2 separate regions of the Homo sapiens genome follow, and region 2 is linked to region 1. The links are contacts of gene promoters, found by promoter capture Hi-C in human tissues and cell types (Jung and others, 2019). All regions are on one chromosome and are shown on one strand. Each heading gives the region's core, a stretch centred on a gene start or on the middle of the fragment in contact. The rest is flanking DNA. Distances are from core to core; before and after follow the strand shown. Region 1 holds the start of SALL1 (spalt like transcription factor 1). Region 2 has its middle 42 kb from the start of SALL1.

What was found. The method cuts DNA at HindIII sites, captures the fragments that hold promoters and counts their contacts. A contact is called where the count stands out against the background at its distance.
Region 2: a contact is called between a fragment that was not itself captured here and the fragment with the promoter of SALL1 in region 1, in 2 of the 25 tissues and cell types used here (mesenchymal stem cells and thymus).

Annotation. Positions count from the first base shown.
Region 1 is chr16:51,149,985-51,152,537 of GRCh38, forward strand. SALL1 (spalt like transcription factor 1) reads right to left here and starts at 1,286. Exons shown (of 3, transcript NM_002968.3): 1 at 1,182-1,286. The coding sequence starts at 1,257. RefSeq lists an enhancer at 483-983. The HindIII fragment of the contact is 9,229 bases long and covers 1-2,553 here.
Region 2 is chr16:51,192,114-51,194,666 of GRCh38, forward strand. No RefSeq gene overlaps it. Among named protein-coding and RNA genes, the nearest start is that of SALL1, 42 kb to the left of the region's middle. The HindIII fragment of the contact is 4,236 bases long and covers 1-2,553 here.

The DNA of each region.
Region 1 (2,553 bases), core at 36-2,535:
CCGAGAGGCCAGCATCGTGCCGGGACGACCCGGGGACCCGAGTCCGGGCGCCGCTACACCGCCTCGGGCGCTAGGCCTGGGAGCTTTGAGGCCGGTACCGTGAAACACCTTTAGGAGCAAGGAGGGATTCCAGGTGTCCTCCCTTTGTACCCCAACTCCCTGCCCGGATCTCTTCCACTCTCTGCCATAGCCCCCACACACAAACTTTGTTCTGGACTTGTTCAGCCCCTTCGGGACCCACAGTTGTCGCCTCCATCGGAGAAAACAAGTGCCCCTGTTTCAGGGGGGATTCCACTCTGGCTGGCCACCCGCAAACCTGGAAAACTATTCTATGACTTCTTCCCTGACCCCCCTGGAAGTAGGGAGCACCACGATCCGCAGAGGGCGCATACCGACCAGAAAGATTTTGGGGGGCAGAGGGTGCAAGTGTTGTGGGAAGAGATGCGGAGATAAATTTTGCGAGCCAGACCCCGACACTTTCCCCGTCCGTTTGCACCGTCTCCGGAACAACTGGCGGCCAGCAGCACTCTCCACCCCGGCCGCAACCCCAGCGGGTCAGGCGCTGGCGCCCCGACACCAGTCCCCATCTTCTTGCAGCTCTGAACCTCCAAAGACACCCGGTTCTGCCTCGCAGGCCGAGGGGGAGTGTGCGTGGGGGCAGGGGGGCGCAGCGAACTCCCCCACGCTCGGAGTTCAGCCCAGCGCCCGAAGTAAACTTCCTTACCGCTGGCAGCAAGGCCGGGCGGCGGAGGCCGGGCCGGGTGCCCTGGGGCCGGCGCCGGGAGCGCTAGGGGCCCCGTGCGGTCAGGCCGGGGCGACCTCCACCCGCACCCACGCCTCATGGGGCTCCCGGGTCTTGGCCGCGGCTGGGATCCCCGGAAAAGCAGGGACGGAGAAGCCAGGCCGGCATGCCCGCCCTCCTTCCCCCGGGAGGACCCAACAACTCCGGAAAGATCCTGCCGGGAGATGTGCTCGCTTTCCCCGGGGCAGCGGGGGAAAGCCCAGCAAAGGCACATTGAAAATTAAAAAGAAAAAAAAAATTACGCCGAGTGGAAGAAGCAATCGGGGCCGCGGCGGCGGTGAGGTAGGGGGCGCGGGGGCCAGCCGCGTGTGAGTGGGTCCGAGTGTGCGTGAGTGTGAGTGCGTGTGTGTGTGTCCACGGCGCGGGCCGGAGCACTCACCATCTCGCCGGGGGAGCGAGGCCACTTCGGGGTCGGATTGGAAATGTTGAGGCTTCGCTTGCTTCCTCCGCGACATGCTGGCTCAAACATCAGCTGGGGCAGAATAAAAAATTACTAAAAAAAAATCTTCTCAAAATTACGGAAATCGAGCGGCGGCGGCGGCGGCGGCTCCCCCCGCCCGCCGGCCCGCCCGCCCCCTCCCCGGCTCCCCGGCCCCGGGCGCAGCGCGCATGTGTCCTGCTATAATTATGATTATCAATAATGCATTGCGATTAATCATAGAGGGGCTCTTTGAAAGGCGATTGGCACCGGGCCAGCGCTATTCAAACCCGCTCGCCTTAATCAATTAGTTCGTGATTTGCTGCAGACCCCTGTCTCTCCGCGCGCTGGCCCAATAAGCCGGCCGCGGGGCTGGCTCTGCGCGCCGCGCCGCCCGACACTGGGTTAACCCTCTTTGCGACCGCCCGGGACTCCGCGGCCCGGCCGCCGGGGGCCGGCCTCCTCTCCACTGCGGGCCCGGCGCCCCGGCAGGCGCCCCCCGCTCTCTCCCTCTCCCCTCCCTCTTCCCTCCCTCCTTCGCCCCCCCCCACAATCCCGGGCTGGGCCGACCCAAATTAGCATGCCCTCCCCGGAATTGAGCCGCCCCGGGTGGGGGGTGGGGCCGGGCGGCGAGGGCTGGGGACCCGGGCTGCCGGCGCGCTGCGAACTTCCCAACTCGGGGGCGAGGCGCGCCGGCCCGCGGGGGGAGGGAGTCCCGCGGCGGGATCAGGGGGGAGGGCGTCCCGTTTCGTGAGTGTTTCTTCGTTTCTTTAAGAGCTACCAGAAAGCAGCCCACCCCCACCCCCATTAAAAAAAAAAATAAGCGAGTGGGGAAGAGCCAGCCCCACGCCGGTCCGCCTCCCGCCCACGGCTCGGCCTCCCTCCCGCCTGGCTCGGCGCTCCTCCGCCCCGAGTTCTCCATCCCCTGGATCCCGGGCTCGCGGGGGCGCGGAGAAGAGGATCCAGGAAAGGTTTGGGAACCTGATGGGTTTGTGGCTGGGGGGAGGGGCAGTTCTCCCGCCACCCCATCCCCTCCCCGCCAGGGGCACTGATCCTCCAGCTTCTTGCTTGCTCCCTCGCTCCCTTTCTCTACCTCGGACATTCCCAGGACAATTAGGGCTGAAGTTTTCGGGAGAAGCAGCCCCGAGCCCGTGGGATAAGGGGGCGGCCCGGCTCCGCCCAGGACCCCTCCCGGACCTCCCCCCCGGCTGCCCCGGTTGGCTGCAGGGCGCGTCACTCCGCGGGGAGGCGGCGGCAGCGGTGGCGCCGCAGAGCCCCGGGCGGGCGGAGAGCGGGGACCGGCCTGGGCTCCGAGTTCAGCTCCGGCCGGGGG
Region 2 (2,553 bases), core at 20-2,519, 42 kb after region 1:
GTGAGAAGCAGCCTTGGTCGTCTTGCCTCCTACGAATCCTCTTTTTAATAAATGCAGCCACTGTTTGACCTGCAGTGATCTGCAATATATCCGCAGGGGAAGCAGCACCACCAGAACGTCAGAATCTTCCTTCTTGAGTTGAAGGGATCATCTTAGGGATGTCTTCATCTAAAATGTCTTAGGGAGACATCTGTGAGAATGCACTGTTGAAATTTCTGTGTCTTCAGATCAAGGTCATCCTGGAGCCATTTTAGCATTATTTTAGAACTCACTGAATATAGAGATCAGATTGTCACTCTCTCCATTCCCATTTCTTCCAGGATCGGAAATGGGGGTATTAGGTGTTACAGTTTTGTTAAGAAAGACGGAAGGATACTCAGATTGGGTGGGGCTTGAACTGTGCTTCCTTCAGAGAGAAGCTCTGTTCTCTTATTGAATGAGAAGTTGGGGGGTGAAGATGGGGAGAACCTTTGAGAACAAGACCTCAAACCTCCCTCGTGAGTGGGTCCTAGTGTGCTCCCGTTGAGTGACGGACAAAGCCGAGTCCTGAGAACATGAAGCCCATGGGACACCTCCTGGTTATTCTGCAGATGGCTCCTTGGCTTCTCCTCCTCTCAGAAGCCCTGTGTCCTTCAGTGTACCAGCAGTGGCATGCATGCAATAAGAGGGTGCATTGATTGTGGAATATTTAAGGTCAGAATACCATCTAAAAGTGTCTTCTGTTTTATTTTCACCATAAGCTAGCAGTTCCAATGTCAGCACTCAGGTACTCGTTTGCTGGTACAGAGGATGCTTCAGTCATGCACACTTGAGCTGTGTATGGGGGCTAACACTGGGACCTGGTCCAGATCCCCTTTGCTGGGTCAGGAGTTAGAACACCTACTCTTTGGCTGCTGAGTGTTGGCTGCCAATGGCTCAGAGCTATCATCTTCTTGGCAGAGTTAGACTCATCCTTACCCGAGCAGCCCACAGCCAGTGAATGGCTGATCCTGTCCCTAAGGAGCAACTTACCTCTCAGAGGCCCCACCTCCCTCAGGCTAAGCTTAACATCACTCAAGACCACAGCCATGCTCAGCTTCTTCCCCATCTCTCCCCTGCTTCTTTCCCTCCCTGGATCACACCTCAACAATTTCTGTGCATTCAGAGTTCTATGTCAAGCCGTGCTTCTACAGAACCTTCTTTAACATGGCTAAAGTAGTATTCAGAGAACAATTTATAGCCTTAAATAGGTTTATCAAAACCTAAGACTGAAAATACATGAACCAAACATTCAACTCAAGAAGTTAGGAAAAAAATAATACCACCAATTGCAACTACACCACACACACACACACACACACACACACACAACCCTGCACACACACAGAGAAAGAAAGGATTTTTTGCCTGAATTGTATCATAGAAGAATCTTATGATAGTGGGATGCATTAGTGCCGGGAAATTTTCTGAAAGTGGTCAACAGTTGACACACTATTCAGTAATCAATAATTGTAATTATATACTCCCCTTATGTAGAGTATGAAGCTTTCTGTAGGCTATAGCCATTCTATAACAGCAAATCATGTTTTATCTGAGTGATCCTTGTAAAAAGAAGAAGAAGATGGAGGAAAACTTGTGGGGAGAGTTGATAGGCAGGTCCTGGAGGGAGCAGAGGGCTCATTCCGGCCTGTGACCACATGAAGAAGTCATTTGACTTCCAGGCAGTAATGCTCTAAGTGGCAAGAAAGCTTGGGCTCTGGTTTTCCCCAGGCCCACCTGAGATTCAAAAAATGTCCATATGTCCAATTTCTTCCTTTTTACCTATGGATGCAAGATGTGATCCCAATACTACTTCGACTTTTCAGGTTTGTTCGATGGCATCTATGAGTCTGTAGAATGCTCCTTGAAGATGTTGGAATTATTTTCTCAAGAACTCTGTTTAAAAGCCATGCCCAGCCTCTGGGAGGCAGGATAACATGCATTTTGTGGACCAAAAAGCCTGGGTTTAATCCAGACTACCATCATTTACTTCCTGTGCAATATTGGGCAAGAGACTAAGCCCGATGCCACCCTCACTCTGTTAAGAAGAAGAACTGGTGTTTAAACCCAAGACATCTATTTTAGATTCCCCACTCTTCACCACTATCCTGAGCAAAGGGCCAATGGATCTAAATTATTTGGGTAGCACAGTCACTGGCTGCTCATAACATAACAGCAATGAAGATGATTATCTTTTGATGAGATTATGAAGTTGATGGTGATGATGATGGCAGTAGGTTACACATATAGATAACAGAGGGTAATAGACCAACCAAAATTCCACAGATTCTTCCCCTAAGGCTCCTTCTGATGAAACCCACCCCACCCCCCCACAACATTAGGGTTTTGGAATGAGCACTGTTCTTGGCATCAGAACACCATATCCTGCTGAGATGCTAACTTTAGGTAAGTTTATTTGCCTGAGCCTTGGTGTTCTCATCAGTAAAATGGGCAGAAATGCTAGGATTACACGAAAAGAGATCCTGAGTAAAAGTGCCGGGGTGTAGATGCCCAGCAGATGTCTGGTAGGTTAGA